Regions from separate parts of the Homo sapiens genome. Here all the other regions are linked to region 1. Evidence: promoter capture Hi-C in 16 types of primary human blood cells and fetal thymus (Javierre and others, 2016). All regions are on one chromosome and are shown on one strand. Each heading gives the region's core, a stretch centred on a gene start or on the middle of the fragment in contact. The rest is flanking DNA. Distances are from core to core; before and after follow the strand shown. Region 1 holds the start of NDUFS4 (NADH:ubiquinone oxidoreductase subunit S4). Region 2 overlaps ARL15 (ARF like GTPase 15). Region 3 overlaps ARL15 (ARF like GTPase 15).

Evidence for each region. Contacts are between HindIII fragments. The CHiCAGO score rates a contact against its expected background, and 5 or more counts as called.
Region 2: a fragment that was not itself captured here is called in contact with the fragment with the promoter of NDUFS4 in region 1 in 7 of 17 cell types (fetal thymus, monocytes, naive CD8 T cells and 4 more); the score reaches 9.3 in fetal thymus.
Region 3: a fragment that was not itself captured here is called in contact with the fragment with the promoter of NDUFS4 in region 1 in 1 of 17 cell types (naive B cells); the score reaches 5.9 in naive B cells.

The regions. Positions count from the first base shown.
Region 1 is chr5:53,558,968-53,562,719 of GRCh38, reverse strand. NDUFS4 (NADH:ubiquinone oxidoreductase subunit S4) reads right to left here and starts at 2,081. Exons shown (of 5, transcript NM_002495.4): 1 at 1,960-2,081. The coding sequence starts at 2,057. RefSeq lists an enhancer at 1,680-2,179. The HindIII fragment of the contact is 3,063 bases long and covers 1,933-3,752 here.
Region 2 is chr5:54,304,105-54,307,856 of GRCh38, reverse strand. All of the region lies in intron 1 of ARL15 (ARF like GTPase 15), which reads left to right. Among named protein-coding and RNA genes, the nearest start is that of ARL15, 4.6 kb to the left of the region's middle. RefSeq lists an enhancer at 2,522-3,185. The HindIII fragment of the contact is 5,398 bases long and covers 1-3,752 here.
Region 3 is chr5:54,150,910-54,154,661 of GRCh38, reverse strand. It overlaps ARL15 (ARF like GTPase 15), which reads left to right. Exons shown (of 5, transcript NM_019087.3): 3 at 23-82. Among named protein-coding and RNA genes, the nearest start is that of ARL15, 160 kb to the left of the region's middle. The HindIII fragment of the contact is 906 bases long and covers 1,606-2,511 here.

The DNA.
Region 1 (3,752 bases), core at 832-3,331:
ACAAACAATATGTAAGGGAGAGGGTCTATAAATTTCCCTCAAATTAGGATGAACATGACAAGCTCTTAGGGTAAAAATGTGGCACAGAAAACAAATAAATGTGTTAATTTGTATTTAAAAAACGTCTTCCCTGGCATTAAGATTTTTTTTCAAGATTAAATGATTTATTTTCAAATCTCTTACATTTGCAGGCAAAAACTCTTAAGTTTGGATATGTAGTAACAATTATCATCAGAGTTTCAAAAATCTAATCTCAACTTCAATTACTATAATTGCTGACAAAATGGCTTTGACTTAAAATTACAGCCATGTTTTGATTAGCCATAAACCAGTGGTCCCTTCAAACTTGTTTTCAGTTCTGGGGCTACCATGAGTACATTATTATCTGGGAATGACAATTAATCCCTATAATCTGTACGGGAGGAAGGGCTAATCTTGGTCACCGCTATATTAACTCTAAGTTAACCAGTGAAGTATTTTACCTTAGAAAAATACTTAACCCAGCCTGACCAACATGGTGAAACCCCGCCTCTACTAAAAATACAAAAATTAGCCAGGTGTGGTGGTGCGCGCCTGTAATCCCAGCTAGTCAGGAGGCTGCGGCAGGAGAACTGCTTGAACCCGGGAGGCGGAGGTTGCAGTGAACCAAGATCACGCCATTGCACTACAGCCTGGGCGTCAGAGTGAGAATGTATCTCAAAAAAAAAAAGAGAAAGAAAAAGGAAAAATACTTTCCATATATGGAACACTTAATTACAAACATCATTTGCCTTTCCCCAATCTTAGCACCCTTACTTTTGAGTGACTCTATTCTATGTATTTAGTAATCGTTTAACTAATGCTTTCAAGCCTTTTCATAAGCCACGGACCCTACGGGACACTCTCTTCTTTCCCACCCAACACCCACTATATTTAAACCTTAATAAAACTCATCCTTAAAAATTCTTCCGAATTAACTCATCCTAATTCTCTGCATTCCATTTATATTTAACACTAAATCAATTAGCATTCTACTAGACCTTCCTTTCAACTTTTAACCACTTGCATCCACCTCCTACCCCCTTCAAATCTCTCCATCCAGTCTTTCCAATCTTTGTTCTAATATGTGTGTGTATGTACGTATAGCATTAGTACTATAATTTAAAAAACTCCAGGAAATTCTGAAAAATAGAAAATGGAAGGTTAATACAGCCAAAAAAAAAAAAATCATCACAAAAATGCTTCAAGGAAAAACAGTAACAACTCAATCAACTGACAACTGAATCTGACAATACTTTGGAAAAGTACTACTTTAGGTTCTCAAGGACGCAAAGAGCCCTCAACAACTCAATTCAATCCCTGAATTATTGTGAGGCTTTAACAAAATCCCTAGAAAACCTCCAGGCATTACCACCAGCCTTTTAAAAATTACCTTCCAATATTACTAGCAGTGATATTTTTACTAACACTGAATTCCAAACAAGTTTTCCTCCCAAGCAGACTGATGAATAAACAATCTTCCTATGCAGAAACCAAATTAAAACCACTTAAAACCATGGAAGGGATACAGTGATTTAACCCTTCTGTAAGGACTGGAGTGGTGGGCAAACAGGTGACAAATGGAAGGGATGCAGAAAGTGGAAACAGAAATCAGTGAGACTCCTCCCCTTCTCTGAGGGCTAAGGTTCAGCTTGCAGCTCCGGAGGCAAAACCTCCACGGACCCTCTCCCTCAGCGACAAGCCGAATACGAAAGCTTCCAGAAAACCACAGGTCCTCCTCCCCGGCCTCGCACTCACGCCCTCACTCGCCTGGCCAACGCCCATTGATAGCAGACAGTCCCTAGTCCGCCCGACTTCTCCCGAGAAAAGGGTCAACAGAGGACGCCTTCCCCGAGGCCTCCTCCGGAACTCAGCCAGCAGAGACTCCGCAAAAATGGAGGGACCCAAGAAGCTTGAAGAAAAGTGTGAAAATTCTATTACCTGGTCGGAACCCTGGAAACGGAAAGGGCAGCTACAGCCACTGCCCTTCTCCGCCACAACGTCTGCCTCAGTACCACTGACATTGACACCGCCGCCATCTTGCTGCAGGCAAACGCCAGGATGAAAGGACGGATCACCGCAAGGGACTAACTTCCTTCGTTCTCAAGCCAGTGCAATCGCAATGTTGCGAAATTCTTTGGGATTTTATTTTCTTTTTAATACTGGGGCTTAAAAAAAGAGGGGAAACGCTTAGTTTAAATAAGTAAGAAGAAAAATGTGCGGGAAGAAATGCAGAAGTGCATTAACTGTAAATATTACCACCATAAAGTGTAATCTTTACTGCTTGTTAGGACTGGTGTTTTACAATGATAACGAAAAGACCAAAATATACTTGCATATTTAAACACCTGCAACTCGTAATTTATTGAAGAAATTAGGATATTTGGGGCTGAACCCACTGGAAAAGCTGGAGAGCTCTTTGGGTCCTTGAGAACCTGCAGTAGTACTTTTCCAAAGTATTGCCAGATTCACTTTGCAAGCCCTCAGGACAGGGCTGTATTCAGTTTGATATTCTGTAGTAGTAATGTTCGTATTTTCCAAACGAAAAATCTGGATACGTGATCTGGCAAAGGATTATTTTTTGACATGTAGATTTATATGAAGAATCAATAGAACATAATATTTGATGTCACTGTTTCCCCAGTAAATCCTGAATGTGTGTGTGTTCATAATCCATAGACATGAAGAATGATATTAATGCTCCATGCATATAAAACAAAAATTATCTTCCAATACAAGTGTTGGAAACATGTTTGTATTGTGGACTTCCGACCTTAAAGAATAATGACTAACTGAATTATATAAAATAAAAAGCAGGTTAGTTTTGGGTTTTGTTTTTTAAGAAATTTGTTTAAAGAGTTAGTACTTTCCTGCTTTTAAAATTAAGCACATGAAAACATAACCTTCATTAAATAAATAGGAACAATAGGAGGATGGGGAATGACATAGTTTGGCATTATGGACCGTTAAAGGAAAACCCAGTACATAAGGGAAAGGGAGAAAGAAAGAGAAAAAGTCATACTCAGGGAAAGAAATGCACAAGATGAAGGAAGGCAAGGGAGAGATGCCTCAGAGAAAATTTTCTTTCAAACTTTTCATTTTGAAATAGTTATAGATTCACATGAAGTTGCAAAGATAGTACAGATGTCTTGTGTACCTGTTTCCCCCAGTGATTACATCTCGTATAACTCTAGTACAGTATCAAAGCCAGGAAACTGGCATTGATATAAAGTATTTGTGTAGTCCTATGTCATTCTACTACATATTTTGTGTAACCACCACCATGATCAAGATACAGAACTATTCCACCCTCACAAAGATCTCCCTAGTGCTAACCTTTTTGGTAACACCTGCCCTCCTAACCCTAGTGATCTCTGTTTCTGTTTTTATAATTTTGACATTTTGAGATGTTATATGAATGGACTCATGCAGTACATGACCTTCTAAGATTGGCTTCTTTCACTTGGCATAATGCACTTGAGACCCATCCAAGTTGTTGTGTTTATCAATAGTTCATTCCTTTTTTATTGCTGAGTAATATTCCATGACATGGATGTACCACAATTTGTTTAACCATTCACCTATTGCAGAACATTTTGATTGTTTCCCATTTGGGGCCATTACAAATAAAACTGCTGCAAACAATTGAATACAGGTTTTTATGTGGACAAAAATCTTCATTTCTCTGAGATAAATGCCCAGGAGTGCAATTGCCAGGTCATGTGATACATGTA
Region 2 (3,752 bases), core at 863-3,362, 750 kb before region 1:
GATGGTGTGTGTCATTTCTTTTTAATCAGTATTTGACTTTCTTGTGTTGTTCCTGTTGGAAACTGGAAGAGAGAGCTGTGTGTGTGTATGTATCTATTGTTCATTGTTCTTTGGGCTGGATGTCGTCACTTAACCTTTTTATTTGGAGGAGAGTGGAAAGGAAGAAGGGAGAGAAAGGTGGAGGTGCTATTTTGTCTTAACAGGATTAATCCTTTTAATAAGATTGAGATATTAAAACAGATGAAGAAGCTCTACTGATCTTCGGGTCGCTGTTGATTTCTTAAAACAAATGTTCTCAGAAGTGACAGTCAAGGTGAGGGACAGGGATAGTACTTTAATATTTAAGACAGGGTTTTATTGATTTCAGTCGAGAGAAAGAATAGAAATTTGCTAATCCTAATCAATTAGATGTATCACCTGGTGCGGTGCCTGACTTGGTTTCTGGCATGTATTAATAGTTAGGGCCCGATATTTTATTTGTTGAATCAGATGAATATGAAATGGAAAGGAAAATTCTGCTTTTTTTCACCAGTTTTTAAACTGAGACAAGATAAAATCTGTTTGGATTAGGTGTTTTGTTCAGGGGAATGCAGAATGTATCCTTTACTCTTAACTTGAAGATGATCAAGATATAATCCTTTTAGCCAGGGTGGCAATTTAAACATAAAAATCTCTGTTTTCCAGTTGATGAGTGAATCTTCCTAGAAGGGCACACAACTTTTCCCCTTTCCATGATGGGGTTTAAAGGCCATGTTTACATCTGCCAAGTCTCTGGGTAAACATTTAGCTGCTGTCCCAACAGGCAGTACCAGCATCTTACTCTTTCTTCTCATAGGTAGAACTAGTAACACAATGTGCAGAGCTTTTTGGATAAGGTAGGAGAAAATAGTCAGGTTAAAATGAAAGAGAAAAACACATTTCTCGAGTTTTCCTGGGAGGTTGGACAAGATCAACTTCTAGATTCCTTTCAGTTCAAAATTTTCTGTCTTGACTCATGTGATGATTGATCTGGAATTAACCTTTTTTCCCTCTGCGCCATCAAAACAACAGTGGTAGAATTGGTTGTACTCTGTGTAATACCTATGATGATTAAATGAGATAGTGGAGGGAAAGCCATTTGTAAACAGTACGTTGCTTTTCAAATATAAAATGTTAACGTATTGTGTGGCTGGGCGAGGTGGCTCACGCCCGTAATCCCAGGACTTTGGGAGGGCAAGACAGGCGGATCACTTGAGGTCAGGAGTTTGAGACCAGCCTGGCTGACATGGAGAAACCCCATCTCCACTTAAAATAGAAAAATTAGCTGGGTGTCGTGGCGCATGCCTGTAATCTCAGCTACTTGGGAGGCTGAGGCAGGAGAATCGCTTGAACCCAGGAGGCAGAGGTTGCAGTGAGATCGCACAACTGCACTCCAGCCTGGGCGACAGAGTGAGACTCCGTCTCAAGACAAAAAAAAAAAAAAAAAGTTAACGTATTGTGATTATGTTGCTGATGTTACTTTTATACCTCCTGTAGAATGACTGTTACTGCTTAGTGGTATTGAAATACCTTTTAAACTAGTCTCAATTTATGGAAATACTGGGAGTTGTAATCAACAAGCAGGAAGTCACAAGACTCTTTTAAGAATCTTTTAAAAGCTACGAAAATAAAACCCATTTGAATAATTTATCTATTCAACAAATATTTATGGAGCCCTTACTTTCTGCATGGCCCTGAAAGTCATGCGGGATGAACCCTCAGCTGTAATATCCTCCTTGACTGCAGGACTGGCAGTCGTGTGGCTCTAGAGGAACCTGTGGCAGGACAGGTTAAGTAAGGCACATAGGGGAGGGGGTAGCTTCTGATGTGCTTCTTTGCTTTCTAGTACATTTCTCTCATTTTGTGTGTTTTATTGTGAACTAAAATATAAACTTAGACTTGAAAATGTGACAAGTAAAAATGGTTGATTAGTCTTGGATGCTAATTGTCAATTAATATTCATTGCATTTGTTTATAGTAGCCTCCACCCTCCCATCCACGGTTTTACTTTTCAAGGTTTCAGTTAACCATGGTCCACCGAGGTCTCAAAATAAGTGAGTAAAGTACAATAAGATATTTTAAGAGAGAGAGAGACCACATTCATATAACTTTTATTACTGTATATTGTTATCATTGTTCACTTTTATTATTAGTTATTATTAATCACTTACTATGCCTAATTTACACATTAAACTTTATCATAGGTGTGTGTGTATAGGAAAAAATATAGTGTGCTCTGTGCTATGTTAGTTAGTTCTATGATAGCTCAGTACTATCTGTGGTTTTAGGTATCCACTGGGACTTGGAATATATCCCCCATGGATGAGGGGAAACTACTGTACCGTGTTGGGGATTTTTTATTTATTTATTTTTTTTTTGTGACAGAGTTTTGCTCTTGTCATGCAGGCTGGAGTGCAATGGGGTGATTCTCCTGTCTCAGCCTCCTAAGTAGCTGGGATTACAGGTGCCCACCACCATGCCCAGCTAATTTTTGTATGTTTAGTAGAGACGGGGTTTCACCATGTTGGCCAGGCTGGTCTCAAACTCCTGACCTCAGGTGATCCACCTGCCTCGACCTCCCAAAGTGCTGGGATTACAGGAGTGAGCCACCGTGCCCTGCCAGTGTTTGGGATTTAATAAGATTAGATTTGATAGGTTAGTTTAATAAGATTTCTTTGTATAGACTGGTGGACTTGACCTATTTAGTTTCTTGGTTATAGGCTGTATCTGCCATCATAAAAATGTATGTCTCAGTGGGGAAGATGTGGTGAGAGAATTGGGTTGATCATCACAAATCTGTCACCATTTGCAGGATAAAAACCAGCTAACTAACCAACAATAGAAACCCATGATGTGCTACAAAGGGTAGAGCCCACAGGCACTATGAAATTGTAAAGGATCCTACTTGAAAAGAGGAGTGAAGGTACATTTGTGATTTCATATTATGTTCAGTTATCTGTGAACTGAACTTCTTTATTGATAAAAAAAAAAGTACATTGTTTCGTTGTTTTTAACCCTGAATATCTATGAACATTGTAAGTTGTATTTATTGTGACTAACTTTAAAGTGATAATGTAGGTCACTTTTTAGTCTAAATGTCGAGTGGATTAGGCAGTCATATTAAATATTCCTTTCTTAATAATTTATAAGATAAAAATTATCTGAGCACAATAAACAGATCTACCATATATGGAGTTCATATAGCAAAAATGTTTTGAGCAAATCCGTACCATTAGGTAGGAACTTTTCTACAAAGGTGTTAAGTCTGGTTCCCAAACTTCTGTGGCTCCAGTCTAACAGTATGAGCCCTAGGAGAGGACACATAGGGACCTTGATTCATGCCCTCCAGGGGCTTGCATTCTGAAAGATGCCAAAGCCACATGCTTGTTGGCATGTGGGCAGTGCTCAGGTCGGGGGTGAGAGGAGATAAGTATATGAGTTATAATCAGGAGGGCAAAATCAGTTAACATTTATTGAACACTTACTCTGTGCCAGTGTTCTAAGTGCTTTGCATGTGTAATAGCATTAAACTGAGGCTCAGGGAGGTTGTGTAATTTCCTCAAGTTCACACAGCTAGCAAGTAGTTGAACTGCGCTTGTGGCCCCAGGGCCCTCCCTCTTCATTGCCTTCCACCTACAAGTAGTTCCCTTGTGCTAGGCAGAGGCTCAGGCAGCTTGGTGTTAAGGCAGTTGGGATGCACTCAAAATTTTTAGTATATTGCTTCTTAAGTAAAC
Region 3 (3,752 bases), core at 809-3,308, 590 kb before region 1:
TGTTTTTGTTTTCTAATTTTAGGTTTTAGTATTAAAGCAGTGCCATTCCAGAATGCCATCTTGAATGTAAAAGAACTTGGAGGTATAACATTTCAAATCATTTCTATGTCTGCCCTTAACTTTTATGAATTTGGTAATAATGTATTATATGTAATTCAAACATAATGATAACTTATTTTAGTAGGTGGTTCATTTTTATCTTGATAATATATTTCCTAGAAATATTTCCTTCTCTTCGTATGTTTTAAAAATTGTTGAAGAGTTCTAAGTAACATAAACTTTGGGGGTTTTTTGAATGAATCAAAGAATTACACTATTATTGGCAATTTATACAGCTCATTGGTTTTACTTGTTCAAAAAATTCTTGAATAAAACATATGAAGAGAATTTTAATATCATTGAAAGATCAACTATTCGGGGAAAAGATTTGTATTTTAGAGTAGTTTGTGTTTATACTGCAGGTTTTATTGTATTAGATCTTTTTAGAATGTATTTGTTCCGATAATAAATCTTTGCCAATGGGTTCTTTGCTGGCCAAGCACATTTATCGGATAGGCTGTACCCCAAACCATACATCACTCAGTCTTTCATTACACTCTCTGTCTGGCATTTTTTGGTTGTGTTTTATGTTAGTCAGGGTCTTAACCCATGTAAATAGATTAACAAAGAAATCAGTCAATTCAGTGAACCCACTAAATTCTCTAATGGCGCATGAAAATACTAAGTGCTCTGGAGTTCAGTATGATATCGGTGAGTTTAATGACTTAGGAGAGAGTTATCTTCCATCTCTTTAATCACTTTGTGATATTGGCCTTACCTTGTTTTGTTTTGTTTTGTTTATTTTCCCTTAAGGTCATTCTAACTGTGACCTATTTTTAGCTCGATGAGATTGTAACACCAACTTTACGCCATTTTAATAGCGTTTGGTACCTTCTTATTTTTATCTAATAAAAAACTGGCTGATCTTTTCAGGTGTCTGTTTTCAGTTCGCTATGTGTAGGACAGGTTCGCTTCTGCCAGTCAATTTCATATTCACTTTTAGCTTTATAGCATTAATATATAAAACAACCATGATCAATAAATTCCGATTTTTCTTTAAGACATTTGGTTTTGTCATTTTGACTCCAAAAATTATAAAACATGAATGTTCTTATAATAATTTTTCTATGCAAAGTTTTTAAAAGACTGTGTTCTATTAGGGTATTTTAAATTATAATTGTACTTTTAAGAAAAATAAATGTATGGCATATTAACCATGCCATATGCTTAAAACCTTAAATACAATGGTTGCTCAGAAACTATTGATAAATTAACGTCTAGAAATTAGTTTAATTTAATTTAATTCAAAAAAGAAATACAAGCAGCTGGCAGAACATTCAAATGAAACAAAATAATCTTTCTCCTATTTAAAATTTCCAGATGCATGGTTTATAAAAAAATGCTTTTTTGCTTTGTGGCTTCTGCTGATTATTCCTTGGTGACAATAATATTACTTATGGATATTTAAAAATCAAAGAACACATTGTAAATGCATGGTTTGAGAGTTATATGGGTTTTAAATATGGCTGTTACTAAGTATTTTATTTTTAGGTTGGACACAAAGCTTTTATTGAACACCTTCCAGGTATAAGAAACTATTGGTTGGTTAATAAGACATTTATTACATATGATGTTTACTTGGATGAAACAAACAGTAACTGTATGTGGACAGTTTTAAAAAAAGTGAACACCAAGGAATTCGTAAGGTTGGCTCTGTGCCATCAAAATTCAGTACAATGAAAGATCAAGTTAGGGGACTAGAGGTACATAAGGTGGGAATAGGTCTGTTCTCAAGCACGGTTTAATTTTGCCGAAAGAGCTGTTCCCTGACAGTTGCTGAAATGGAAATTACAATGGAGAGGATACCATAGGATTTGGTGGTTATGTTTTAGTTGGTACCTATTTCGTAATGAGGTTAAGAGATGCAGGTAAAAGGCAGAGCCTCAGGGATCAGAGCAGATACATTCGTTCCAGGCTAGTGATACATAAGTTTTTGGCATGTGTTAGTATTGAAGAGCAAATTTCTAGCCTATGCATAGATTCTTTTACTTTCTCAACTTTAATAGCTCTGTTTCCAGTTGACACAGTGTCTGAAGGAAGAGGGGACTTTCTGAGTAGAATCCAATTGTGTATCCTGTGTCACATGCTCGGGGGCAAGCACTTAAGGGAGTTGACTTCTTGACAGCTCATTCACTAAGTCATTTCCTCAAATATTTTTTGAGGCTAGGTACTAGGTTATGTCTCAACCAGGAACACATGAAAAGCTAGGCTAACCTGTATAAAGTGTAGCTTTCCTAGGAGTTAACGTGTATGCTAGATATGAAGGGGATCATCCCAAAATAAGGTGTATGTGCACTTAGGGGGAATTATGACTGGCTGAAATCAAGTTGTCTGAGAGGGAGTTGCTTGACTGAGAATTTCTGGGAGGAGAGAGTTATATGTTTTATGATCAATGTGTGAAGATATGAAGCTTTTATTCACCAGTGGAGGGTTGCTCAGAAGACAGGTTAATCAGAGTTCAATCACATTGTCAATCAGAGAAAAATTCTGAATTCAGGGGAGGACCTCAAGAAAATAGGTGGTAAATATAGAGATTAAGAGCCAGGACAGTGATGAATTCTTAGTGAGGAATGCCCAGGTAGTTCTCCTTATCCTGGGGTTAATTCAGGAGAACAGCATGGCCCCTGTTCTCCCTGCTAATGTCCTTCCTCTACCCATTTCAGATAGTTCCAAGGCTCTTCTTCACTCTTTCCCAGTCTTAAGTTAAAATTCTCACTTCTTCAAAATAGGGAAGCGCATAAACCTGTGCTCATTATCTATTTAGAAGAAATGATATGGGGTGAGGAAACAATGAATAATGGAGTTACACTCAGTGAAAGTCACTTTTGGGGATCTTAATGACAAACTATATGTTTGCACACACAAACATATGTTTGTGTGTGAATATATATGTGTTGAATATATATTACTTATAAAAATTATTATTTCCTCTTACCAATTTTCTGTTTTGTGAAAGTGTTTTTATATCTTTTTCCTGAAAAATTCTTAAAATTCTCATTCACATCAATTTCTTTTCATGTGGTGTTTTCTTACTGTTCACTTGATCATTTTACCACAATTAATTATGGGTCTAGCATGGTCCTATGGGCAGAGAATGAAAGATCTAAGCACAGCCCTCATCTTCAGGGAACTCCTCATTCAGTGATGGAGACATTCATGAAAAGAGAAATAGGAAATTAGTGAAAATTTTGAAAATAATGAAATGAAAGGGAAAAAAATTAAGTGCAGAAGTACAAGGTAAATTATGACACAGTGATAGTCTAGCCCAGTGGTTTGGTGGGCCATTTCTATTTTGCTATTTTAAGAATGCCTTGTTCTCAACTACCTGTCACACCCTCCAGGCTGCAGTGATTATGCCTATCTTTTTGTGAAATTGGAGCTCTAAATTTTCTTCTTCTGTTTTGCCCTTATTCCCTTTTCTCTCCCCTACACAGTCTCAGTCTTTGCAACTTCATGCCTAGAGAGTAGATGCTATTATTATCTCACAGATAAGATAACACCAGACATGATGATTTGACTGTGGTCATTTGGAGCCGGAGGTTGGTATCAGTCTGAGCTCTTGTGCCTAACCAGTGCACTCTACACCTACAGCACTTTACCCAGGGCCTGGCACAAGAGAAGTGCTCCCACCTGTTATTTGCTGCTGTTTGTAT